Linked DNA regions of Homo sapiens: all the other regions are linked to region 5. The links are contacts of gene promoters, found by promoter capture Hi-C in blood cells and fetal thymus (Javierre and others, 2016). All regions are on one chromosome and are shown on one strand. Each heading gives the region's core, a stretch centred on a gene start or on the middle of the fragment in contact. The rest is flanking DNA. Distances are from core to core; before and after follow the strand shown. Region 1 has its middle 36 kb from the start of RMEL3. Region 2 holds the start of RMEL3 (enriched in melanoma 3). Region 3 overlaps RMEL3 (enriched in melanoma 3). Region 4 overlaps RMEL3 (enriched in melanoma 3). Region 5 holds the start of GAPT (GRB2 binding adaptor protein, transmembrane). Region 6 has its middle 18 kb from the start of RMEL3. Region 7 has its middle 61 kb from the start of RMEL3.

What was found. The method cuts DNA at HindIII sites, captures the fragments that hold promoters and counts their contacts. A CHiCAGO score of 5 or more calls a contact.
Region 1: a fragment that was not itself captured here is called in contact with the fragment with the promoter of GAPT in region 5 in 3 of 17 cell types (naive CD4 T cells, total CD4 T cells and total CD8 T cells); the score reaches 7.5 in naive CD4 T cells.
Region 2: a fragment that was not itself captured here is called in contact with the fragment with the promoter of GAPT in region 5 in 4 of 17 cell types (naive CD4 T cells, non-activated CD4 T cells, naive CD8 T cells and 1 more); the score reaches 6.6 in naive CD4 T cells.
Region 3: a fragment that was not itself captured here is called in contact with the fragment with the promoter of GAPT in region 5 in 1 of 17 cell types (non-activated CD4 T cells); the score reaches 5.1 in non-activated CD4 T cells.
Region 4: a fragment that was not itself captured here is called in contact with the fragment with the promoter of GAPT in region 5 in 5 of 17 cell types (activated CD4 T cells, naive CD4 T cells, naive CD8 T cells and 2 more); the score reaches 7.1 in activated CD4 T cells.
Region 6: a contact is called between a fragment that was not itself captured here and the fragment with the promoter of GAPT in region 5, in 3 of 17 cell types (naive CD4 T cells, fetal thymus and total CD8 T cells). The highest score is 9.0, in naive CD4 T cells.
Region 7: a fragment that was not itself captured here is called in contact with the fragment with the promoter of GAPT in region 5 in 1 of 17 cell types (naive CD4 T cells); the score reaches 6.8 in naive CD4 T cells.

The regions. Positions count from the first base shown.
Region 1 is chr5:57,356,560-57,360,660 of GRCh38, forward strand. No RefSeq gene overlaps it. Among named protein-coding and RNA genes, the nearest start is that of RMEL3, 36 kb to the right of the region's middle. The HindIII fragment of the contact is 1,674 bases long and covers 1,237-2,910 here.
Region 2 is chr5:57,394,469-57,398,349 of GRCh38, forward strand. It overlaps RMEL3 (enriched in melanoma 3), which reads left to right and starts at 639. Exons shown (of 4, transcript NR_186596.1): 1 at 639-710. The HindIII fragment of the contact is 8,479 bases long and covers 1-3,881 here.
Region 3 is chr5:57,436,369-57,440,235 of GRCh38, forward strand. All of the region lies in intron 1 of RMEL3 (enriched in melanoma 3), which reads left to right. Among named protein-coding and RNA genes, the nearest start is that of RMEL3, 43 kb to the left of the region's middle. The HindIII fragment of the contact is 5,886 bases long and covers 1-3,867 here.
Region 4 is chr5:57,420,689-57,424,303 of GRCh38, forward strand. The region is part of intron 1 of RMEL3 (enriched in melanoma 3); the gene reads left to right. It also overlaps the pseudogene SALL4P1. Among named protein-coding and RNA genes, the nearest start is that of RMEL3, 27 kb to the left of the region's middle. RefSeq lists an enhancer at 848-1,017. The HindIII fragment of the contact is 5,113 bases long and covers 1-3,615 here.
Region 5 is chr5:58,488,660-58,492,731 of GRCh38, forward strand. It overlaps GAPT (GRB2 binding adaptor protein, transmembrane), which reads left to right and starts at 2,776. Exons shown (of 3, transcript NM_001304431.2): 1 at 2,776-2,882. The HindIII fragment of the contact is 6,945 bases long and covers 512-4,072 here.
Region 6 is chr5:57,374,673-57,378,772 of GRCh38, forward strand. No RefSeq gene overlaps it. Among named protein-coding and RNA genes, the nearest start is that of RMEL3, 18 kb to the right of the region's middle. The HindIII fragment of the contact is 1,440 bases long and covers 1,184-2,623 here.
Region 7 is chr5:57,332,152-57,335,730 of GRCh38, forward strand. No RefSeq gene overlaps it. Among named protein-coding and RNA genes, the nearest start is that of RMEL3, 61 kb to the right of the region's middle. The HindIII fragment of the contact is 3,865 bases long and covers 135-3,579 here.

The DNA of each region.
Region 1 (4,101 bases), core at 824-3,323, 1.1 Mb before region 5:
GAGGAGGAGAGGCGCTCTGCTTTCTAGAGTTTCCAGTTTTTCTGTTCTGTTTTTTCCCCATCTTTGTGGTTTTATCTACTTTTGGTCTTTGATGATGGTGATGTACAGATGGGTTTTTGGTGTGGATGTCCTTTCTGTTTGTTAGTTTTCCTTCTAACAGACAGGACCCTCAGCTGCAGGTCTGTTGGAATACCCTGCTGTGTGACGTGTCAGTGTGCCCCTGCTGGGGGGTGCCTCCCAGTTAGGCTGCTCAGGGGTCAGGGGTCAGGGACCCAGTTGAGGAGGCAGTCTGCCTGTTCTCAGATCTCCAGCTGCGTGCTGGGAGAACCACTGCTCTCTTCAAAGCTGTCAGACAGGGACATTTAAGTCTGCAGAGGTTACTGCTGTCTTTTTGTTTGTCTGTGCCCTGCCCCCAGAGGTGGAGCCTACAGAGGCAGGCAGGCCTCCTTGGGCTGTGGTGGGCTCCGCCCAGTTCGAGCTTCCCCGCTGCTTTGTTTACCTAATCAAGCCTGGGCAATGGCGGGCGCCCCTCCCCCAGCCTCGCTGCCACCTTGCAGTTTGATCTCAGACTGCTGTGCTAGCAATCAGCGAGACTCCGTGGGCGTAGGACCCTCCAAGACAGGTGCGGGATATAATCTCGTGGTGCGCCATTTTTTAAGCCCCTCGGAAAAGCGCAGTATTCGGGTGGGAGTGACCCGATTTTCCAGGTGCCGTCCGTCACCCCTTTCTTTGACTCGGAAAGGGAACTCCCTGACCCCTTGCGCTTCCCAAGTGAGGCAATGCCTCGCCCTGCTTCAGCTCATGCACGGTGTGCGCACCCACTGACCTGCGCCCACTGTCTGGCACTCCCTAGTGAGATGAACCTGGTACCTCAGATGGAAATGCAGAAATCACTGTCTTCTGTGTCGCTCACGCTGGGAGCTGTAGACCGGAGCTGTTCCTATTCGGCCATCTTGGCTCCTCCCCCCGATTTTACCAGCATTATTTTTCATGGGAAATTCACAAGGACAATTTACCAGTTTATAGTTTTTGTCATATTGTTTCATTTTGTGGTTATTATGACAACCAAGCCCAATTTGCCCAATTAAAATGTTACAGATCCAAATTTAGTCAAGAAGGACTTGTCTGTCAACTGTTTACCATATGAAGTTTTAGTTGTGGCTAGTTTCATATTCTTTTGATGAATATTTCCCCATGTCAATTTTTAGTTATTGAGAAAATGTGATTATTCAATCAAGCTTAAAAATAAATCTGTTAAAAATTCTCTATGTACATTTTTAGTTTGTCAGTTATGTTGAGTTTACTATTTCTAGTGGTCATATTTATTATAAATTTAATGCAAATTAAGAGTTTATATGATATTTTTCTCAGCTAATCCATGAAGACACTGGAGCAATACTCCTCAGCTATTCCAAGGCTGATTGGCCTATTATTTTGAGAATCCAATCATTCTGTTCGTTTTGAATGACTTTATGTGCTGGATATCAAAGGTCCGCACTTGGTGGAGAGAAGAGAAAGTGATAATGCCAAAATGGTGTGGGTATTAGAGAAGGTGGGTTGAGAGTGGAGAAGTGCTTTGCGTGATTCAAGTCCCTGGAAGCAGATGGGCAGTGGGTACAGAAGCCAGTTTGATGTGACATTGTGGGTACAATGAGAAGCAAGTGCAGAGAGTAAGGATTGTATCTCGAAGAAGCCTGACAGAGAACAGGAGGGTAAATACACACAAGAGCTAGAAGTTTGAAACTTTTTAGGATGGTGCAGATTTGACATGTTTGTGGGCTAGCAGGAGAGCATCAGCTGGGAGAAAAGACAAAAATGCAGGAAAAGGAGATTACCAACAGAGCAGTACCAATGAAGAAAAATGAAGGAACAAGAGCAAGTGCTCAGGTGGAGAGCTGGCTTCGAGTTGGAGGAAAGGAGATTAAAATTGATGCAGGTGTAGGTAAAATAGTCTTAATTTTCTCAGTGAGCCAGGAGGCAAAAGTGGCCTGCTGAGTGGGCAAGGATAGTTGAAGCTGGGTTAGTAATGGGCTTGACAACTCTTGCTTTTGGTTTGCCCTGCAGACTTTCCCATCTCCCTTCTGGTAACAACATCCTCTTTCATTTGGGGAGCTCTCCCCTGTGGATCACAGGATTTGGTATGTGACCCAAACTGGGTCATTTGCTGAATGGAGGAAGCCTGCTGTAAGAGTAAGTGAATAGAATCAGAAGGTCAGTTTGGGTCCTATTAGATTTAAGATGTCTGTTACACATCCAAAAGGAAATGTTAAGTAGGCAGTTGGATATATAAGTTCAGAGCTCAGGGGAGAGGTTAGACGTCATCTGAGTAAATGGCATGACCTAGAACTGGATAAGATCATCTATAGGGTTAGTCTCTGTTAGTTGGAGGGAGGGCCAAACAAGAAGTCCTGGGGAGTTCAAGGCTGCTGTGAACTGTGATTGCGCCACTACACTCCAGCTTGGGTAAGAAGAGCCAGATGCTGTCTCTAATAAATACATAAAATTTAAAATGAAGGAAAAAATAAGTCCTGGTGCATCATTCAGCACTAAAAGATGAGGAAGAGGAGAAAAATGTTCTGAGCTAGGAATAAACCTGGAGAGTAGGTTGGGTGTGGTGGCTCATGCCTGCAATCCCAACACTTTGGGAGGTCAAGGTGGTAGGCTTGCTTGAGCCCAGGAGTTAGAGACCAGCCTGGACAACGTAATGAGAACTCGTCTCTACAAAAAACAAACAAAAAATTAGCAGGGCACAGTGGTGCATGCTTGTAGTCCTGGCTACTCAGCTACTCTGGAGGATGAGGTGTGAGGTTTGCTTCTGCCCGGGAGATTGAAGCTGCAGTGAGCTGGACAGCACCACTGTACTCCAGCTTGGCTGACAGTGTAAGACCCTGCCTCAGTGAAAAACAAACAAGCTTGGGTGACAGTGTGAGACCTTGTCTTAGTGAAAAACAAACAAAATAGCCTGGAGAATATGGATTTTATTGAAGGTATGTGAAGAAAGCAAAGAGGGAGGTCAAGGGGAGAGGATAGCTTGAAGCCAGGACTTTGAGACCAGCCTGGGTAATACAGCAAGATCCCCATCTCTAAAAAAAAAAAAAAAAAAAAAAAAAAAGCAAAAAGAAAATTAGCTCAGTATGGCGGCACATGGCTGGAATCCTAGCTACTTGGGAGGCTGAGATGGGAGGATCCCCCCAGAAGTTGGAAGTTACAGTTAGCAGATTGTGCCATGCCTCTGTACTCCAGCCTGGTGGAGGAATCAGCTGTGAAAATGTTGCTGGAGGTCAAGTGAATTGAGGACTGTATTAATGATTGGATTTGGCAAGGTGGAAGTCATTGTCTTCAATAAGACCAATTTTAGTGGAGAGGTGGAAATTAAAAGCCTCCTTAGAGTGGATTGAGAGAGGGAGAGAGTGGGTTGAAAAAGAGGAGGCAGGAAGTATAGTAATCCTTTGAGGAGTTTTGCTCCAAAGGGGAGCAGAGAAATGGAGCAGTAATTGGAAGTGGAATGAACACAAAGGAGAGGTTTTGTTTTGTTTTGTTTTGCTTTTTAATAAGGAAGTATTACAGTATGCATATATGCTGCTGGGAATGATCCCATAGAAAGGGGTAAAATTGAAGATGTAGGGCAGAGAGGGAATAACTGTTATAGCAAAGAGAGGATGGAATCAGTATCAAGTGGAGAGTTTGGGCTTAGGTAGGATTAAGTATGGCTTATTTTTTGTCATTGGGATGTGTCACAGTATACAGTACAGTTGAAGCCAGGTTGATAAAGTTGCTGATAAGAAAATGAGGCAATTTTGTATTAATTGCTTTTAGTTTCTTAGTGAAATAAGAAATAAGGACACTGGCTGTGGGATTAGCTGTGGTGCTTTCCTAGGGTAAGGTAGACAGTCAGTTTGGATAATGTGAGGAGCGTAAATAGACCACTGGATTTGGAAAAGTGGAGGTCATTGGTGATGTTGGCCAGAGCCTTCTCTGAGGCAGTTTGTAGGGGTGAGGCGGGTAGTGTTGAGGCTGGGGAAGGAACTATCCCTCCAGGAGCAAGGGCTCTGTGCACCTCTCTAATATGTTGATGGCAGAATTAAGGCTGGAGGAGGGGGC
Region 2 (3,881 bases), core at 723-3,222, 1.1 Mb before region 5:
AGCCCCTTTAGACTGGCAATAACCCTCCAAGTTCCTTCTGTTCTCAGTAAAGATTTGTTTAGTTTCCCTTGAGAGGAACATTGTATGGAGAAAGGACACCCTGAGGGATGAATTAGTCCTCCTGTCTGCCTAGCCAGGATCATAATACCTCAGTCATACCCCACACACAAGAGAACACATTCAGTTTTCATATCTTCCAGGAGAATGACTTCAACACCTTCTGAAAGACCCCTGGAGTATTGAATACACTTTTTGTTACTTATCTTCCTTAAACGGCTGAGTTGATGAAAAAAAAAAAAAAAGGTCTGGGATAGGTTAAGATTTTAAAAAACTTTTATCTTTAAATTTCATTTATTATTATTATGTCTCAGTTTTACATTTTTATTTTGAAATAATTATAGTTTCACAGAAAATTACCAAAAATATATGGGGAAGTCCTGTGTATCCTTCACCCAGTTTCCTCTAATGGTAACATTTTGCGTGACTATAGAACATTATCAAAACCCAGACATTGGCATTGGTACAATTGGCAGAGTTTATTTAGCTTTCAAGGGTCAGTCTCTTCCCTCATTTGCCCCCGTCAGGAGGATCTTACTCTCCCAGACTTGTTCTCAGCCTTTCTGGGGACAAATGAAGGAAGCAACTGGGGAGAAGAAACTAACCAGAGGTTTGGAGATGTTTCTCAGGTTATTTTGAGAACAGCCGATCCGGTAGGTGAGAGAAGTGGGTAAGAAAATAAATGGAAAGATTTTAAGTATTGCTGTTGAGTGTGAGTAAACTCTGTTTTTCCTTTTCTCTCACACCCCAACAATTAACACAGAAGACTTCTGTGACCAAATGTGGTGGTGGGGGTTCCCTTATACACCAAGCAAGCAATCGCTTCTGCAGCAGGCACCAGCTGGGCGTCCTCCAATTCAAATCTGACACTGTCTACTGGGAGATACCATCAGATCCCACAGGTTGAGGGCTCAGTCCCACAAGACCACTCTTTCCTTCTTACCAGTCGTAAGTCCAGGCCTTCTGAACTTCTGACTGACTGGCTTCAAGTTGGGGTTTCCATGACCTCCTCTTTGAGTTTAATTAATTTGCTGGAGTGACTTACAGAAGTCAGGGAAACACTTATGCTTACCAGTTTATTATGACGGATATCTGAAAGGATGCAAATAAATAGCCACATGAAAACATGCATAGGGTGAGGTCTGGAATGGTCCTGAGTGCAGGAGCTGCTGTCCTTGTGGAGTTGGGATACGTGCCCCTGCTCTAGCAGGTGGGTGAGTTCTTCGCCTTCCTGCCAGCCTCCATGTGTTCAGCGCCCCGGAAGCCCTCGAACCCTGTCCTTTGGGCCTCTTTTGGAGGCTGCATTGATTGTCCATAATTGAAGCAGAGACAACTGTGTCAAAATGTGATTGGATAAGAAGAGTATGCTCTAAACCCAGCAAGGCCTGTCTGTTCAGATTCTTTTTGGCCTCTCTGTGCAGCATTCCTTCCTCCTGGGAATGGGGCAGGACCTCTTCTGAAATGGGGTCTTATGACCTGCAATCAGACAAGGTAGGTCAGGGAATTTCTTTTTGGCCAGTGCAAGACAGAAAGGTAGGGAACAATTAGAGTATATTTTTAGTTCCTAAGGCCTGCCTTGGGAAAAAAAGGGAGCAGGTGAAAGGAGGGCAGGAGACGGTCAGAGAGAGATTGTATTTTCTCAGGCCTGCTTCTGGGATCTAAAGTGCTCCAACATTACAACAAAACACTGTCACAAGCGCTATGGGAGTTACGAGCCAGAAACCTTGGATGAAAACATATATATAAAATAGTATCACAGCTGTAGTCTCTGGGTGCGCCCCTCCCCAACCCATAGTGTTAGAGAATTTCAAGTAATGACTTTTATTTTGCAACCTCTTTCAGGTGTTATAATATTGTTTTCTAAATGCTGTCTTGACCCAGTTTTGAGGCCCTGTCTAGAGGCCAGTTTCCCTGCCTAGACAGGCGACTGGCCCACGCTTCGACTACCTCCGCTGGCTACTGTCCACCCACACCGATCACCCCAGGACCAGTATCACACAAGCAGGGACAGCCCCTGTGCCCCAGAGCCCACTGAAATTATTCCAATTAGTCCATCCTATGCCTTTTGACCCTGCCTCGCAAATTCCTTCCCTGTAAGCCACAAAAAAGGCGTTCATCCACAGATCCCCCTCCCTCTGCCTCCTGAGGGGGTCCTGGTTTCTTGTGTGACCTCTATCTTTTCAGTGATGTCGTTTCTTGGCCTTATCACACTTAAATAATTAGAAACCTATTAAAACAGGTGGGTGGACCCTTTCACTGCACCACTTCTTTGGAAAAATAACTTTATTTGTTTCAGATCAAGTATGGCAAAAAAGAAAAGAAAGGATCACTCTGTGGGCAGCCTGTGGCTTTGTTCTCCCGTGCTGTTCTGTAGGTTTATAGTGGGTAGGGAGGATGTGTGGGTGTGGCAATGTGTATGTGTGTGTGTATATAATGTTTGCACTATTTTTTTCATGTAACTTAGCTTTAATGGAACTTATATATGAATAATATACTATTGCAATGTATCCATACTGACAATTTTAACTACTTTATAATATTGTATTTTATGAATGTACCATCACTTACTTAACCGTTGCTCTGTTTTTGTCACTTTGAGGGTGCTTATTTATTTATTTTTTTCAATAGTTTTCTACCTACAATACCACATAATGAGGCAGATGTGCTTCATTTGGAGTTTGCGTTGGGGAAGGTCTAGCCTGGCAGTTTGATCAGAGGTCAAGTTTCAGAAGTTCAGAGTTTTATTTTATTTTATTTTAACCACTAAAATGACTTGCTCATGAGCATCTTTGTACAAAACTTCTGTGTGCTCTTGGGATTATTTTCTTGGAATATTTGACTTAAAATTATAATAGTCTCCCCTTATTGGAGGTTTTCATTTTGAAGTGTTAATTGTCCTCAGTCAACTGCAGTCTGACAGTAGGTGAGTATAGCACATAAGATATTTTGAGAGAGAGAAAGAGAGAGAGAAAGAGAGATGACATTCACATAACTTTTATTATAGTATATTGTTATAATTGTTTTATTTTATTATTAGTTATTTCTTACTGTGTCTAATTTATAAATTAGACTTTATCATGGGTATGTATATATATGAAGAAACATAGTCTATATAAGGTTTAGTACTGCCTGTGGTTTCAGGAATCCACTGGGGGTCTTGAGGTGTTTCCCCTGCAGATAAGCAGGGACTACTTCCATATTAAGTTAAAAGGCATTTGTATTTTTTCTCTTTTTATGTATGTTGCCCAAATCTACAGCTAACTTTTGCATACTTTGTCAACAGAAAATGTTTATACTACATTCCATAATATTTAAAAATTAAGGAAGAATTATAGAGGTAGAATTTTAAAAATTAAAAACAAAACCTCTCCATGGACCCCATAAATACATAGACCTACGATGTACCCATAAAAATGAAAAAGTTTTAAAAAAACAAACAAAACCTCATGCACATCTTATGTTGTGGAATGAAATTTGGAAAGTATATCTAGAAAATAAGATTCCTGCTCAAGACCTACTGATCAAAATCTCTGGGAATGAGACCTGATAGCTTACATTTTAAACAAACTCCCGAAGTTATTATTATTATTATTATTTGAAACAAGGTCTCACTCCATCACCCAGGCTGGAGTGCAGTTATGCGATTATGGCTCACTGCAACCTCGACCTCCTGGGCTCAAGCGGTTCTCCTATCTCAGCCTCCTGTGTAGCTCAGACCGCAGGCGCATGCCACCACTCCTTGCTAACTTGTTGATTTTTTTGTAGAAAAAGGGTCTCGCTTTGTTGCCTATGCTGGTCTCGAGCTCCTGGGCTCAAATGATCTG
Region 3 (3,867 bases), core at 929-3,428, 1.1 Mb before region 5:
TCTAGTGATCTCCTCATCGTGGAGTGGAGAGATTTTAGTGAAACACAGTGGACCCATCTTCAAATTTGAGAGGTCTAGGGAAAGAGTTCAAATGGAAGCCTATGTACCCTATGTCTAAATATTGAAATTTGTAAGTCAGGCTGAAAGATGTTAAATAAACTATAAACATATCTTAGTAATAAACTGGAAAGTCTGATTAAAATTGTGACTTCTCAAAATCTCTATGGAGTACTACAATGGTGTAGTGTGGGAGAATGCATCTCCGACCTGACCCATTCATTTCCCTTCTTGGAATCAACTCCAATCAATACCTGAATGGGCCTTGTGTGCCCACATTCCAGTTCTATCCACTCCTCCTCCAAACAGCTGCCTCTTGGGGTTAAGTGGCATACACCAGCTGTGCAGTTTATTCTTAAGAGGTCACATCTGGGAGGAAGCCCACATAAGACCTGGAAGCAGGCTTGGGATGTTTGGGCAAGAAACTCCAGAGTCTTCAGGACCCAGAGAGTGGTATCAAAGGGGGATGTGATTCACCTTGGCTGTGCAGGCTCCTTGACTGATATAAACTGGTCATAGGCACAGTTGGGTATCTAAGGCAGGACCCCTCTTACCTGGGTCTTAGGACAGCACTGAAATATATCAAAGGTACATTGAGAATACTGTTCCTTTGTAGCTTTGATACATTTGTAGAACACTATTGTTAGGTCTTTCCACTCTGACTTCCCATCATCTTTCAGGGCTGGCTCTCACCTGCTGTAGAAAACACACAAACCCCACTGATGAGCCTCCAATGTAGGTGGAACGAGTCCAACCAATCTATTTCCTCTATGTTACCGACCTGAAATGACTCCCTCCTGTATTTCCTTGTGTTAAATTTTGCCCTCATCTCACTGCTAGAAGTCCAGGTAGCCCCTAGTACAAATTCACCCTTTGGAAAAGCTGTGATTTAGTGCCAGGTCTAGGAGATGCTGTGTAGCAGGTGGATGGGGAGCCTTAGGCCTCCTTTCGATTCTCCCTCTTGACTCCCAAAAGTTTCTTCTTCTCAATTGTCAGATGCCTATTCTCTCATGTCTCATCTGCCACCTTTACCCCCCACCACCCTTATGCATTCTGTACTTTGAAAATACCTCATCTCCCCCAGTCTTTTTTGTGCCATTTTCTTAAGCCATCAAAAGTCTCTTCCCTTCAGAGAAGCTGTGTGAAGTGTATAAATTTTTTTTTGCTACATTAATCCATTAGAAAAACTTGTAAGGTAAGAAAGTTCATCTTGAAGCCACCAGGCTGTCTTTTCCCACCCTTGTGTTGTCCCCATTGTGCTGTTTCCATTTTCTCTTTTCTATCAAATCAAAACCAGCTCTCAGGAAAGAATACTCATAGGTAATTTGTGGTATCTTGGAAGTGGCATAAATGACTTGGTCTTCCAAAAGAAATGTTGCTGGTGGGGGCTGGGGGGAGCAAGTATTCTGGGTCACTTGAAAAGGCCGTAGAAGTCATAATATGTTGGGTGCCTGAATGCTCAGCCTCTGTATCTGCCATTCAAAGGGCCCTGCAAAGCAAGGCCTGTTATAATCCAGGTGTGTGTCTATATGCACCGAGGGTCACATTGTAGAAAAAAAGTGCAAAGACAACAATTTATTCCTAGTTTTTGCAAATCAGGATTGTCTTCTCCTTAGGGCAGGAAAATGAACTGGAGGAAGGAGAATAAACACAATGCTGAAGAGCCTGTTTATGGGGGTTCAAGCATTTCTGTTTCCTTCCTTGCTTTGCACCTCCTCACTCTCTTAACACTCAGATTTCTGGAATGGACCCAGGATGCAAATGTAGCTATAGGATTTGGATGCAATTCCTCTATGTTCTCTGCCATACCTCCTTTCAAAATGAGTCAAGAAGAGAGAAAACATAAAGATCATCTTCTCTTTTTAATATAAACAATCTGTGGCTGCAGGAAAAGGGGTTGAAACACGAGGGATAGATATTACTCAGGGTGACAGTCGGCCTTCTGCAGAATGACCTTTACTGACTGTTTATCCTGACTGTTGGAGAGGAAGGCCAGGAAATGCTTTCAAAACGTGGACACATCAGTAACCAGGATATATATATGTTCAGTGACTGTTCCTCTTCTACCAACTGAAATGATACGCAGTTTTATTTCTATTTTTACAAAATAATTGAAGCGAGTTCGTTGCTTTCTCCAGGGAAGTAACTGAGACATAATTTCAAGTATTAATACAACAGAAGTCTTAAAGGTATACGTGGCACATGATGCTTGAACTTTTACAAAATACTTTTCCTTAGAGGAAACTTTGGAGGCTGAATGATGTTATGGATAGAGTTCAAGTTTTGAAGTTAGATCTGTTTTAAATCTGTTTCCCTGTATGAAGAATGGTGTTGCTTATTCTCTTCGATCCCATTTCTTTCTGTATAAATGTAGTAACAACATTTAAATCTTTCTTGATTGCTACAAGGGTCAAATGAGAAAATCTATGTGAAGTGTCTGGCGGGGAGTTGATGCTCAATGAAATTTAGTTTCCTTCTATGGCCAGAGACTGCTTGTTGCCTAACCAATATCCATATCCCCTTTTCATTTAGTACAGACCCTGATTTCATTCTGATGGCTGTATGCTCAGTAATGAGGCCATATGTCCCAGCTTCCTTTGCTGCTAGAAGTGGTCATGTGATGTAGTTCTAATTAATAAAATGTATACAGTTGTTGGGTAAGGTTCTGGGAAAGTGCTGTAAAGGGGAGGACATCAGCTAATCCAGACTTTTTCTATTCCTTAACTCCTTCTCCCTATTTCTCCTGGAAAGCAGACATAATGGTTGGAGTTGCTGCAGCCATTTTGGATCATAAGGCAACTTTGAGGGTGCAGCCATGCGCTATTAATCAGAATTGTAGAGAAAGATAGGTATCTGGATCCCTAATGACACTGTAGAGCTATAGCTGCCTAGGACTGCCTACCTCTGGACATTTTAAAAATATGTGTGAGCTGAAGAAATTTTTATCTTGTTGAAACATCTCTCATTTCTAGCATCTGTTATTAAGCAATGGAATACAATTCCTAACTAATATGCCTTTCTCTTATACTTATTTGCTCTTATTTAATCCTCACGTTTATCCTGTGAGTTAGTTTAGTTTTCCCTATTTTATAAATAAAAAACCTGAAGTGAAGAGGGTTAAGTATTTTGCTCCACATCACTCAGCTATTCTGGGTTACCACTGATTTTTAACTTTATTATCATTGCTCTTTCTACCATAAAGGGTAATCTGTTGAGTTTTCCCAAGACCCTTTTACCCTAGGTCTTGCAGCCAGTGTGGCATGATGGTTAGGAGGCCAAACTCTGGAGCCAAACTACCCAAATTTGAATCCTGGTGCTACCAGTTACTGCTGAGAGATTTATGTGCAAATTGCTTGACCTCTTTGAGCCCCAATTTCCTCCTCTATAAAATCGAGATAGCAACACCTCATAGAGTTGGTATCATCCTGAAATGAGTCAGTGTATCTAAAATGCTTAGAACAGTGCCTGGTATATAGAGAGCTATTAAGTGTTAGCTATTACCGTTCCTTTTTCTACATCAGGCAGACAAATCCACTCATTGGACACAAAATCTCTAAAACCATAGCTAATCTTGAAAGATTTTACCATATTTCTGAGGTTTCAGATTTACATCAGTGTTATGGGGCATGAGTATTCTTAGCTAATTCAGAGTCCTTAGCTAATCCTGAGACCTTCCTGTGATCACATGGTTATGAGTGGGGGCTCCCTGTAATGGCACCCCTGATGGGCTGGGAGCCCAGGAATCCCTGGTGGTGGGAATACCATCTTTGTTATATAGGAAATGGGAGCAGGTGGCTGATAGGATTCTGG
Region 4 (3,615 bases), core at 150-2,649, 1.1 Mb before region 5:
GCTCTGCTAGGTGATATGCTGTGAGAGGGACCCAGGCAGGGCTCCCTAAGGGAAGTGATACTGATATGAGATCTGAAAGAGGAATGAATAAAGTGATAAGTAGAAGAATATTATATCCAGAAGCAACTGCATATTCAAAGACCTGGACATAAGAGAAGTCTTGCGGTATTTGAAGAACTGAAATAAAACTCATGATTGCAGTGGAGAGCATGATGGTGTTGAGAGGTGAGGTGGGACTGAAGCCATATGAGGGATTTATTTCTTCCAGGAGTTTCCCTGACTGATTTCTGATAACAAGAGGTTACATAGTCTAGACTGTTGCTGAGTTTGCAATGATGACAACATGTTTGAACCTCCTTGAACATAGCAGTATTTTATCGCTCTTTGGTGACTAATGAAATTTTGTCTCTGGTCAAGTAATTGGATTCTTAGCATGACACATTTTATTTCAAGTCAAGAAGACACAAGTATAAAAGACTAGTGACTGAATGCCTCGAGTTTATATAGAAATAAAAAAGACTTGGAACTAGAGAGTCTTTGTTTTGGATGGTCTTTCTGGATTTCCTTTGTTAGTCTTTGTCTTTTGTCTACTTTTTTGTCTTCTTAAACTTTGTCTAAATGTTGTCAAACAGAACAAACAAAGCAAAAACAAAACAACAATAGATTCTGCTTCAGAGCTGTGAAGATCCAGGCAACTTTGATGCTTCACAGTTAAAATTTTCCTTTCAGTAGCTGCACTTGCAATTGTCTCCAGCACCAGCAAAGGAGTGGTAAGAGCATCATGGTTTCCAAGATCCAACTTGTAAGGCACGTGGGAATGGGATACTACCTAAGAAGGAATTCTAGTCTTTTATTCTATGTAGAATAAAAAAAACTTATCTTTGTTAACTAAAACCCTTGACTGTTTAAAATAATATGATTTAGGATAATCAATAAATATATTTATAGAGATGCGCTATATAGCATATCTGATATAAATGTTTAATTCATTCCTAGTGGTATGTATAGAGTTTCACCTATGGCTCTGTCTTGCCTTACTCAAAAAGCAGAACAATTTCTTTCTTAGAAAGAAAGCTACCAGTGCCCAGATGCCCACTCCTATTCTTTTTAGGGAATGATAATTTGTTCTCCTTTGAGCCCAGATTTCTCAGTGAATTCTCCAGTATGCTCACAGCTCTCCCTCCAGATATTTTGAGAGCTTGGAGTCATAGTCCTGCATTTTTAAGGAAGCTGTGAAAATCCACATGAGCTCTCCTTTTCCAGCTGTAGAAAAAACTAAATAGTGTCCCAACACCACTGTTGGTTGAGAGTCCTTTGGATCTAAGTTTTCTTCTTCTGTATTCTTATGGGTCCTCGTGAAAAACAAATGTAAGAGAATAGCAGAAAATAAAATACACTGGCAGAAGGATTTTCAATGTTAAGAACTGGCCTATGACAAAACTGGCCATTTTACATCTTTGTCATATTTATAGGTTTACTTTTCTAATACTTATACTTTTGATTTGCGGCGGGAGCTTGGAGTCGGTAAGGTAGCCATAGACAGGAAGATTTGTACAATGATGGAAAGCTAATAAGCACTTGAATTTTGTTAAAGAAAGATTCTCAAATCACAGTATATTTTTGGCAGTACAGAAAAGTATTCTTCTGGGGATAGAGGGAGTGTCCACATAAGTCAGAATGAAAATGAGCTGGGAAGGTGGGTAAATTTCCCAACTCTGGAATTTGTGGCAGAGAGAGCAAATAACTGCGGCTCTCCTGGCGCCTGGTTGCTCGCACCATGTCGAGGCCCAAGCACGCGAAATCCCAGCACATCATTTCGGAGGAGGACCAGGGCGAGCAGCAGCCGCAGCAGCCGACCCCCCCGGAGTTTGTAGATGTGGCCCCCGCGGTGTCGGCGGCGGGGGAGCTTGGTGCTCGGTGGGAGAAAACGCAAGTCTATGAGAAAACTCAAGTCTATGAGAAAAGTTCTTTAGCATCTCTGAGTTCTTGGAACGTAAGAAAAATTGCACTAAAAATCCACCCGTCTTCATCATGAATGATGGCGAGGGTCCAGTGCCTTCAGAAGACATCTCTGAAGCTGTACTGAGCCACCAGCCACCCAGTCCAAGCAGTGAGGATGGCCACAGGGAGAATGGGAGCAGCTCAGGGGACATGAAGGAGAAGCTGGCCGTATCTAAAGACAGAGACGGCCCTGTCACCCACCCCCGAGTAGATAAGATATTTACCCAAAGGCAAAGTGGCCAACACTAACGTGTCCTTGCAGGCACTATGGGGCACCAAGGTGGCTGTGAATCGGCGGAGCGCAGATGCCCTGCCTGCCCCTGTGCCTGGCGCCAACAGCATCCTCGAGCCGATACTGTGTCTGTAGCAGCAGAAGCAGCTACAGCAGACCCAGCTCACCAAGCAGATCCGCATCCCGGTGAACACATTAGCCTCTCGCGCCTGCACTCCAGCGGGGCGGGGCCGACACCCTGAAGACCTTGGGCAGCCACATGTCCCAGCAGCTTTCTGCAGCTGTGGTTTTGCTCAGCCAGAAAGCTGGAAGCCAAGGTCTGTCTCTGGACGCCTTGAAACAAGCCAAGCTACCTCACGCCGGCATCCCTTCTGCCACCAGCTCCCTGTCCCCAGGGCTGACGCCCTTTGTTCCAAAGCCGGATGGGACCCGGCTGCTCCCAAACGTCATGTTCTGCCTCCCCAGTGCTTTACATCCTCAGGCCCCGGGCTCGCTGCTCTTCCAGAGCCCTTTCTCCACTGTGGCGCTAGACCCAACCAAGGGAAGGGAAGGGAAGCCACCGGACATCTCCGTGGTGGATGTCAAATCGAAAGATGATGCCGTCCTCTACAAGCACAAGTGTAAGTGCTGTAGCAAGGTTTTCGGGACTGATAGCTCCTAGCAGATCCACTTCCGCTCCCACACTGGAGAGAGACCCTTCGTGTGCTCTGTCTGTGGTCATCGTTTCACCACCAAGAACGACCTCAAGGTGCACTTTTGCTGACATCCCTAGGTGAAGGCAAACCCCCAGCTGTTGGCCGAGCTCCAGGACAAAGTGGCCACAGGCAATGGCATCCCCTATGCACTCTCTGTACCCCTCCCTGTAGATGAATCAAGTCTCTCTCTAGACAGCAAACCTGTCCTTGTAACCCCCTTGGTAAAGCTACCTGAGAATCCTTCTTTGGTGACTAACCCCAAGGACATCAAGGGTGGCCCCCGGCCAAGCAACTTGCAGCCTGGGCCTTCTCCAGAAAGTGAGGGTGGACCTATACATCCTGGGGTGGGACCAAACATAATTCCCAAAGGACTGGTGGCTTCCAAGGGAATGGGACCACCGACCCCAACGAATGTCTCATTTGCGACCAAGTCTTAAGCTGCCAGAGCTCCCTCAAGATGCATTACTGCATCCACAAAGGGGAGAGATCATACCAGTGTGAGATCTGTGGCCAAGTCATTTCTACCAAAGGTAACCTGAAGACACACCTTGGGGTTCACTGAACCAACACGTCCATTAAGACGCAGCATTCTTGCCCCATCTGCCAGAAGAAGTTCGCCAATGCCGTGATGCTGCAGTAGCAGATTCACCTACTCCAAGATGGATGGCTCCCAATCAGGTATCAGTG
Region 5 (4,072 bases), core at 1,526-4,025:
ATGGCGCTATCTCAGCTCACCGAAACCTCTGCCTCCCAGGTTCCAGTGATTCTCCTGCCTCAGCCTCCTGAGTAGCCAGGATTACAGGCATGCTGCATCATTCCTGGCTAATTTTGTATTTTTAGTAGCGATAAGTTTCTGCATGTTGGTCAGGCTGGTCTCAAACTCCTGACCTCAGATGATCTGCCCGCCTCAGCCTCCCAAAGTGCTGGGATTACAGGCGTGAGCCACTGCACCCAGCCGCTTTAAAATTTTTATAACTCTTTGGGCCACAGAGTGAAAAACTTTTAGTTGGAAGGTAGTGACACATTCTATTAAAACTCTAGTTACTTTTTGGTTAATCCCATAAACCGATTAGTGTTAATAAATTTGTTAGCTACTAAATGCATTACCTTTCCGAGGTAACATAATGCTTTATGCTAAAATGTAAATTCCCATGATACCCTTAACAAGTAGCATGGGGTTTGGCGGCTCCTTCCAAAATAGCCAGAAAGATGCTTTTAGTCTGGCAAGCTTTCAAATAAAATTCACATACACAAACATTTGTTCATTTTTACCGTCACTAATGTTACTCAGTTCAAGTATCTGAAAAAGGGCATGGGTTAAAAGAAATGGATACTAACTGACACACAAGAAATTGCTGGGAACTTAAATCACAATTAAGTAAAGTGGTTGCTATCACCAATTAATAGGAGAGGAAGATTTACTTAGATGAAAGATCCAGTCCATATTACACTACAGAACAATAAACTACTTCCTAAGCCCTTTACTACCCAAACCGTATAACTGTAGAAGAAAAAGCAGGAAAAGAAAACCTAGACATAATTGCTGTGATTAAAAAGGAACTGAAAGGAGACAATAAATATGTATTTTGCGAGGCCAAAGATTGGGAAGTAGGAAAATATAGAATTCAAGACATAAAACATAATCCCTACAAATGACAATGATCCAATAATTCTATTTTGAATATATACAGCATTTCTTTTATAAACTTGAAGAATAATTATATCCATTACATCAAAAAAATTCTATTTGAGGAAAGTGCCAGTCATTTTCCCTCCATTTTATTTTCCGTTAGAAAAACTAAAGTAATAAGGGGTTAAGCAACTTTTTTAACTTCAAAGGGCAAAAGCTGAATGAGCACCAGTTGTCCTGCCTTCTAGAGAAAATCATAATTTTATACAAACATTGTATAAATTGCCTTTCTTACAGATGTATGCCTAGGCAGGTGAGTGTGTATATTATTTGGAGGGGTGGCTAATACTGAAGTTAAATATAGTGGTGAGAATGTGGAGCACATCAAGTTCATAGCTTCACAACTTCATAACCTCCTTCACTGTAAGATTTTTGTCCAGGACACCCCTATTCTGCCTTAACACCTTATTCTATGAGGCTTAGCTCAGGTCTTGCCTTCCCTGACCACCCTCTGAGCTGGATGCCTCTTTCCTTTACCTCCACTGTCCCTGTCCATAATCCTGTCTTTCTTAGGCATTATCACTTTGATCTGAAATGTTCTGTGGGCGCAGCAGCCTCTCTACTTGGCTTTAAGTGCTGCAGGGAGCTTATTCACTCTTGCATCCTCATCTCTTAGCACAATGCCTGGCATAATGTCAGTGCTCAGCAAGTGTTAATAATACGTCCTGTCCTTCCAATGTCCAGTAGTTATTTCAGTAACTAAATCCTCTTTTTTAAAACCACCTTATGCAAAGTTAATCCTCTGTGGTTCAAAAAGTTCCAAGACAACTTAAAAGACAAATTTTCCATTACTTTGTCATCTCATCTGTCGAATTCATCTGTAATTTGTCTAATTCAGCATCTCCCACTGTGTGTGTTCCCATGAGTTGGACTCCAAGAGATGCTCTTGGTAAGCGTATCTATGTGGGAAACATGTTACTCAATCTAGCAAGGCAGCCAGTGCAGTGGTTTAGCACACAGGTGCTGGGGGCAAACTGCAGGCTCTGTCGGGCAAGTGATCATTCTGTGTGCTTCTGTTTCCTCTTCTGTAAAATAGGACTAATAACAGTTTTTCTCCCTCACAGGGTTGTTGCCAAGATTTGCTGAGTATTACACAAAAGGTTTGGAGTACTTAGTGCTAGGAACATACTGACTACTATTATTAAGCAAAGTTAAACAATTTCTTTTTCTTATTTGGTTTTATTTTGTTTGCTGGCTGTAAGACTGCTGAGAGCCTTTAGCATGCTGATGTACCCATGAATCTCCAGGGAAGCAGTATTCCCCACATTTACTTGATGGAAGAGCTGCTAGCATATCTCAGGGGTAATGGGCCTCAAAACATACCTTAGGAAATTCCTATTTATAAATTTAAAAGAACGTTAACATTTTCCAAACCCAAATTGGGACACTGATTTGACCTGTATGGCTATAACTTGGGAGCATTGGTACATAATATTAATATTTGAAGAGAGGACTGGTCTAGCAACACAAGTAAATAATAATAATAATAATAAAAGCCCAAGACCTATGTGTTACTACAATTAAAATATTTCTTTTTTTAAAAAATCAAAGTACAAGTGAAGTGACTTTTATTGATATTAAAGTGGGAACTGCAAATATGGCCCAAATAAAAAACCATGTAGGCTTTACGTATTATTTTCTGACACAGTTAAAAAACTATTACTTGACAAAGATGAAGGGCCAGACTTCCTTATTCAAAACCTCACGCCATTTATCTTAATTCTGCTGCATCTGATACTGACTTCCTCTAGAGCCAGGAAACTTTGCAAGTATTAAATAGCGTGAACGAAGGAGGGAAAGAAGGAAGTAACCCACCAAAGTGAAAAAGAGGAACAAGTTCTAACCCAATGCAGGTTTAAAACATAACCAAAAGAACAAAAGAGAGAGCTTGACACACCAATCTTGAGGTAAGTAAGAACCTGATTTAAGGTATTTGGATGATTAAACACTATAAGAAACAAGTTTGTCTTTAATTAATCAATGATTTTTATCTTACTACAGTTTTTAGAAAAAAATGCCTTACGTAGCTGTAAGGGGGAAACCCAATTTACAAACTGAGAGTGATGTTAATGTTTCTTTACAATATGATTATGCTTTGCTGTTACCTTGTTTCCAAACAGCAGGGCATTCTCTTACTTGAAAATTCCTGAAGTTTCTCAACAATTTGCGATTTTAAGAAAAATGTCAAATTGTTAGGTAACCTGTTGGAACTGCTTTCCAAAATGAAAACAGAGTCTTCTTTCAAACTGGTCAAAGTGAACATTATTTAAGTGTTAAACTATATTTGAATGGTTATTGTTTAAAATATGTTTTTCATTATAGTAGGTCTTTGTTCATGTCTCACAGGTTTTTTCCTCTAATGTTATTTCGAAGAAAATGATGCATTTCTTTTTCTGTAAAAAGTCTTCTTGTCTTTATCTTGGTAAATATCTCTTAGACAAACAATTTTAATATTTTGGATGTACCAGAATTTCTACTCTACATAGAATAACATAGATGGTAAAAATGCCTTTTCTTCTTAAAAATTAAGAGAGTAATTTATTGCCTTATCCTCAGCTACAGAAGTGACAATAGTTAGCCTTCCTCAACCCTCACCGTGACTTCTGTTGCAGGCCTAGTATCTTTCAAAAAGTTGATTAATTTCAATCAATACTTAAAGTGTATTTTGTAAATTTATTTCAAATATTCTGGCAAATAACTTCTTAAATCATTAACCATGTATACCATAAAATATCTTGCAGATAATTGGTGCTCATCTGTTTCAGACAGGAAATGAGGTCCTAATGATTAAAGTCATTTGGCTAAACTTTTGTCCTTGAACACAAGCACGGCTGGCCTTATAAAGGAGGGACCCTGCAGATTGTAAATCTTATGTGGCGGACCATACAGTTCTCAACCTCAATATTACTCCCAAAAATTCCAAGGAGATTAAAATGTTTCTGCATCTGGGGTGCTTGTCCCTGTATTTTTATCAAAAAATTGTATAAATTAGCTGCACATCTTATTTAATTTTCTTTTATGAAATGTCAAATTAAATATTTGCATATTAATATATTCTAACCTTGGACAAATTTATGAACGTTCATTACCATTAAAC
Region 6 (4,100 bases), core at 654-3,153, 1.1 Mb before region 5:
TTAGAGCTTTTCAAAAAGCAACACATGGAGCTGTATTGTCCAGAGAGAGAGAGAGAGAGAGAGAGAGAGATGGAGAGAGAGAGAGAGAGAGAGAGAGAGAGAGAGAGAGAGAAAAGCAACACAGATTAAGGAATTCAAGTTGCAGGTGCAGTTTCCACTGTATTTTACAGAGATGTTGATAAAACAAGAGATTTTATGTGGCTGTCAGCACCTCCAGTTTAGTCACTAAAAGTAATTGTGGGGTTCATGAACATCAGAGATCCTTAAATTATAGTTTGACACTTCATACAAATTTGGTCCTGATTAACCCCTGGAGGGGTTTGGTGGTAATTTATTGAGAGAGGTGATTTGGTATGTGCACACATGCATGCACGTGCGTGCGCACACATACACACAAACGCATATATGTGTGTATTTATACTCAAAATGTTCCTCCTTCCTAGAAAATGATTGAATTCTTATGAGTGAGCATATTTAGTCTAGATGCAGATGAATTCACTTATTCAGAGAACATTTATTGGGGTTATGAGCATTTATTGAGGGCCCCAGAGCTAGGCAGAGTGCACTGATTAGTATATGGCTGTTTGGGGACTACTGAAAATAATAGTCCCTTTTAGAAGACTTATATGTAGGATTCTACAGAACCACTAACCTAGCAGAAAATGGGAAAATGCAGAAAGATTTTTTGAAATAATTACAATACAGTGAAAAGAATGTGAAATACTAAATTATAAGACCCTAGAATTCATCATTTACTAGCTGCTATGACTTCAGGGAAGTTGATTAGCATAGTTTTCAAACCTATAAAATAGTAATGGTGTTAATAAAATAAAGTAATAATCCCCAACTTGCAGGGTTGTTTTGAGGATGTGAGATGACATATCTATCTAAAAGCAATTTTGTTAATAGAAAATTAACTCCAGAATATTAGATTAACACATTTTATTGTGATGTTGTGCCAGCTTCATTTTATTTGCAAGCACTAGAGGGTCCTAAATTTATAAGTTAGTCTGTAGCAATAATCAGAACCTTTGATTTCCTACTTGAAGCATGCCACTTTATTTTGAATTAATGCATAATCTGGAATGAGGTAGAAGATTTAATAGTATAATGCAATAAGATTTAGTATAATGAAGGAAATGACTACACAGGTCACAAGATCGCATACATTTGAATGATACAAAGCTTAATTAAAATTAATTTGTTTTATCCTTAATGATGAGGCCAAAGCAAACATTATTTTTATGTCTTTTACAAGTGATGTCAAATAACTAATTCTGAGGCAAGAATTAAGTTAAAAGTAAAATTTACCGAAATCTGTGAATTTGATAGGGAAAACAATGTCTTATATTGCAGTATTGAAGTTTATAAGAATCAGACTACACTTTATACTTAAATTTTTTTCCTTTGGTTCATCTAAGGCAGCTACTTGCTGGGACTTTGCATACTTTTATTTATCTATCAATCAGCCTGCACTCTGGCTTTTAATCAGGTTGGTGAAAATCCTTACCACGTGATTATGAAATGATTTCTTTTTTTGATTAAAATGGTAGGAAATTTAAAAGAAAAAGAAAATTAACTTTATAAATATTACTTAGCTTCCTAATTAATAAATAACTTAGTTATAGAAAATTGTCATTTATAGCATAATGTATACATACAGGGTGGCAATTTTCCAAAAATTTGAACACAATAAAATACATTAATAGAAAAATTCCACTGAACATTTAATATTTTTGGATTATTCTGAAGGCATGTTGGGGTTTTGGCATGTCTTTAAATTGCCTTACCCATTACCCCAGTAGATATGGGATAGTAGGATAATCAATTAACCTTGGGACGAACAGAAAAACACTTTTCTACATAGTGTTTAAAAATAAACCTTGTCCTTCCTATGATTTTCACAGATGCTGTGATGATCATCTTTAACTAAAATCTAAGACCCATTATTATTTGCAACATTGTCCCTTCTCAATGATTCTGTTTTAAAATATAATTCCCTTGAGACAGCACCAGCATGTTATTGGGAATTAGTTTTTATCTGCTTTTTAGACTTCTTCTATAATGGGAACAAGGCAGGATAAACACCCTCATTCTCTGTGGGATGAAATGAGGTTTAGAAAGATGGAGTCTTTCTAAGTGGAAGTAGAAGTATGAAGCAGGTGAACATGTTTGCAGTGACTTCTACTTACTGGAATTGTTGCACATTAATCTTCCCAGATCCCAGATCCTGCCATGTTACTCACCCACTCAACAACTTTCAATGGCTCTGCATTGACTCCAAACTTTCCACTCTCCCATTACTCCCCTCTACACATTACCCTATCCTTCATTTAAACTGGGTATCTTATTCTTTCTTAAACATGGCCTAGTGTCCTTCTTCTATTTCTTTGCTTCTCCATTATCGCCATCTTTCCTAATCTAGTTTATGTTTCATGACTCCACTCAAATCCACTTTCTTCATGAGGTTTACTTTCCCCTCTCCCTCACCCCATCCAAATAAATATATTACCTTCCCTCTCATTTCCAAGGCACTTTCTTTGTGTCTTTTTCACATCATGTATCATAGTGTGCCTTTTATCGTAATTATTTTAGTGTTTGACTAATCCAGCCACACACTGTAAGCTTATTGAAAGCATAAAGAGACTGTGTCTTCCTCAACTTTTTAACATATTCATAATATGTTGCAATTATAATCCAGGTGAAACGGACTATAAATAAATTTTCACTGATTTTTTAAATGTAATGTACATATGTTTTATCTCTCCCATTAAAGGAGATGTTCCTTGATGGTGGGGATCATATCTAACTTACTGCCCATATCCTCCACAGCATTTAACCAGGGTTCTGCACAGGAGCAAAGTTCTCAATACACATTAATGAAACGAGTAAGGTGGTAGATTGGACACACGAATGAAAGAATAGATGAATGGACAGATAGATAGATAGATGGAAAGATGGATGGATGGTCCAAAAATGATAGACTGGATTAAGAAAATGTGGCACTGTAGCCTTGTAGTATAGTTTGAAGTCAGATAGTGTGATGCCTCCAGCTTTGTTCTTTTGGCTTAGGATTGACTTGGCGATGCGGGCTCTTTTTTGGTTCCATATGAACTTTAAAGTAGTTTTTTCCAATTCTGTGAAGAAAGGCATTGGTAGCTTGATGGGGATGGCATTGAATCTGTAAATTACCTTGGGCAGTATGGCCATTTTCACGATATTGATTCTTCCTACCCATGAGCATGGAATGTTCTTCCATTTGTTTGTATCCTCTTTTATTTCCTTGAGCAGTGGTTTGTAGTTCTCCTTGAAGAGGTCCTTCACATCCCTTGTAAGTTGGATTCCTAGGTATTTTATTCTCTTTGAAGCAATTGTGAATGGGAGTTCACTCATGATTTGGCTCTCTGTTTGTCTGTTGTTGGTGTATAAGAATGCTTGTGATTTTTGTACATTGATTTTGTATCCTGAGACTTTGCTGAAGTTGCTTATCAGCTTAAGGAGATTTTGGGCTGAGACAACGGGGTTTTCCAGATATACAATCATGTCGTCTGCAAACAGGGACAATTTGACTTCCTCTTTTCCTAATTGAATACCCTTTATTTCCTTCTCCTGCCTAATTGCCCTGGCCAGAACTTCCAACACTATGTTGAATAGGAGTGGTAAGAGAGGGCATCCCTGTCTTGTGCCAGTTTTCAAAGGGAATGCTTCCAGTTTTTGCCCATTCAGTATGATATTGGCTGTGGGTTTGTCATAGATAGCTCTTATTATTTTGAAATACGTCCCATCAATACCTAATTTATTGAGAGTTTTTAGCATGAAGGGTTGTTGAATTTTGTCAAAGGCCTTTTCTGCATCTATTGAGATAATCATGTGGTTTTTGTCTTTGGTTCTGTTTATATGCTGGATTACATTTATTGATTTGCGTATATTGAACCAGCCTTGCATCCCAGGGATGAAGCCCACTTGATCATGGTGGATAAGCGTTTTGATGTGCTGCTGGATTCGGTTTGCCAGTATTTTATTGAGGATTTTTGCATCAAAGTTCATCAAGGATATTGGTCTAAAATTCTCTTTTTTTGTTGTGTCTCTGCCCGGCTTTG
Region 7 (3,579 bases), core at 817-3,316, 1.2 Mb before region 5:
CCTGTGAGTATAATGCACTTTGTTTTCCTGAGCCTCTCCTCTGTCTCCTCTTGTGGTGGGGACCTGGCTGAACATTTCATAAAAGAAGGCAAAACAGTTGACCATGGGCTTGGGACTTACATACGCCTGGCCAAAGCTTTTGGGATGAGGGCTCAGGGAACTATGTGCCCTGTGCTACTTCTCTGCTTGTCATCTTCCCCCTCCCACAAAGCCTATTTTCTATCTGTATCATGAGGCATAAATGATGTGTGTCTATGACTCCTTTGTAAAACAGTTTCCAAGTTTTGCTTATTAACCACTCCTGCATTTGAGGATAAAGTGACGTCTGTGGTGACAGATCATGGGATTAATAACAAATGGTTGGACCACTGCTTTCTTCCCACTTAATAAATATTCCATGTGTAATTGAATCCTGTTGAATTAGTTGGGCCACAAAGGCTTCTTCCTCCTTTGCTAGGAATGCAGCCAGAGTTGTGCTTTAAAAGACACGTGTGCATGTGCTTACACTGAACAAATTCCCTGGCAGAAAGAAAGTGGTGGAGGAGTTAGAAACGCAGAGAAAAGCAGAAGGCAGCACCAGAGGAAGGATGTACGTGAAAGCCTCAGTACATTATACAAATGAAATGGTGATATATTCCCCAGGAGAAGGAGACAATGCTGTTTGGGGCTTCATACATCCTGTTTCTTCTTGTGATTAAACTGAAAAAAATTAATGATGTTGGGAAGGAGGGAAAGCTGAAGGAAGACCAGAGCCTGATACCTTGGGGTAATGATGCTGCCTCTGTCTGTGCCTTTTTAATGCTGACAGGAGCCACCCCTTCTGCCTAATGGAGAAACATAACCAGTTTCCATGCAGCTTAGAATAGCTGGGGTTGAAGAGAAGGTGCAGGGTTTTCCTTTTTTTGGCTCAGTGCCTTTTTAGTTAGTTCAACCAACTCGGCTGGGGGACACTGGAGATAGAAGTGTGACTGTTGTTCCTCATCCATAGGGGCAGGCCACATGGGCAGACTACCTGACATTTGTATCCTGCTTCCCTGCAGGGTGAGGAAGTCTCATGAACATAGTCTCCTGAGCTGAAGCAGGGGAGGGCTCTGGAGAAAGAGGACCTGGGTGCAGATCCTGCTCATTCAGTGATCCCAAGACCTTGGGCATATTTCACTATCAACTTGCCAGGGAGAATTTCCAGTGCTGAGGATAGGGTGGTGAACAAAGGAACTTTGGTTCTTGCAGGGAAACAGTCTAAGAATAAGTAGCAAGAAAAGAAAAGAATGGCAAATTTTGATAAAGATTTCAAAGGACACTGAGGGGCTGAAAAAGTGATGCTGGGGTGAGCTGGGAAGAGGACCAAGTCAGATATACTTCCTACATTCAGGGGACTCATGTCCTAGTGGGAGTGAGACATACATATACACCTGCACACATGGTGGAATGCTGCAAAGAAAACAAACAAGGGCCTAAGAGAGGAAAAAGGCAGGGGATGCAGGTGGACCCACGTTGGTCAGGGGAGGCCTCTAGGAGGTGACCATCGAGCTGATAGAAGATGAGAAGGCTGGCCTTCAGCAACAGGAGCAGAGCATTCAATATGAGAACCAAGAACAGCCTATGCAAAGGGACTGAGGAGGGAATGAACTGGGAGCACCCAAGGAAGTGAAGGAGGCTCAGTGCAGCTGGAGCCTGTGAAACAGGATGTCTGGGGAGGAGCTGAAGCCAGGAGCCAGGTCGGAGTCCTATAACATGAAGTTGTGTGGGCTCTGATGGGGACTTTAGAGTCTCTTCTAAGTGCAGAAGGCACTTTCGGCAGGAAAGTGATATAATCCAGTTTATTTTAAAAGACATTTGTGCTTGCTGTTATTCTTAAACCTCTGTATAGTGGGAATAGTCCATAGTACCTACTTCAGAGGGTTGTGTGAGGGTTAATTGCGGTCTGAATATAATGCACTTGGCCCAGTGTCTAGCGCACAGCAAGTTCAGGGCACATTGTTATTCATCTACGTGCAAAGCTGGCTTCAAGGCCATTGAGCCCACCTTATTCTAACTTTGGCAGTTCTTCCCATAGCCACTTGGAGCTGCCTTACAAGGTGAGGTCAGATTGTATTTGTGTGTCTATGTCTCTCTACCTACCTGCCTGCCTGCCTACCTCTATCTCAGTCATCTTTATATATTACTGGAGTAGCCAGAGGTAGGGTTAAGATTTTTCTCAGAACACAAATTTGGATCTAATCCAACAGTCAGACAAATGGGCAGTCAAGTTCCAAGTTCCCAGGTCCTTGCTATTGTTATCATTTTCATCCAGGGGCTATGAAATATCTACTTTGGTCATAAAATTCATGCAAGGCCACCATAGAATACTAAACTTTAAGCTAAAACTATCAATGTTGGACATTGTCTTCCACCTCCTTTTTGTTCTCTACCCTGCTGTCTGTGCTGGGGGCTGACCTCCACGGACCACATCCCTTCTGACTGCTGGATGATGTGGCCAAACACAGGAGACTGGAGGACAGACAGAGTGAGAGGTCAGGATATGTATTCCTTCTGCTTCCTCCCTATCCAGCCACCTTCCTCTACCAAAGGCCACAGCTCCTGTTGTGGTGGCCTCCTCTACATTGCTGGTTTCTCTGGGTTCAGGTGACCTCTCTTTCCTCTTACATCTTTAGGTCAGGGATTGTAGCAATTTTCTGCTATTTCTAGCCCAGAGGTGCTTGTTGGTTTCCCTTGATCCTGCCCACACTTTGATAAATAGTCTCTTCATCGAAATTATTTTAAATCACCCCTTTTTGTGTCTGCCATCTATTTCCTACTGGGACCCTACCCACCCACATACTCTCTAAGCTCAAATGTTTTAAAAATGTACCCTGGTTATTAGGGCACTAACCAGCTAGATGCAGGTATATTTTAATATTCATCATATTTTAATATTTCTAAGATGTACCCCCCACACACATATTTTAGCACCTCTGAAATCAGGATGAGATTTGCAAATGGTGATGTTTTACTCTTGCTACTGGCTTGGCATCTGTGGGTGTTTTCTTGTGCATGTGTGAACTTGGTCATTCATTGCTGGTCATGGAGTCCTCATTTTAATGGAGTTATGTTTGTTGTTGGTACTATTCAATGGTGTTTAAAGTATTTCGGTAGGTTTACATTATGATTCAGCTCTGGAATGAAGTCATTATTTACACAGAGGCATGGAACAGAGCAGCAAAGCATAATTTTGATGTCAGTGAAGCAAATATCCATCTTGGCAGAATGGAGGAAATTCCATATTTTTTAAAGGGCTTTATGGGACTTAAAAAAGGAAGATACTCATAAGTAGTTGGAACTGTGTTATATGTGTTACTGAGATATGTGCAAAAGGATTGCCTATAATAGGATGAGCAATGTGACTAAAGGAAGTAGGAATTCCCAAATCCTTTGGAATAAATCAAAGAAATTTCAAAGAAACAAGGAGTTGGTGTCATTGATTGGCAGTGTTTTTTATTTTTTTCTTTCTTAGTGGCACATACAATACTGGTGTGCTTTACAAATTGTTGACTCCTTAGATTTGATGATCTATGGTATTTTTTAGAATGCTATTTTCTG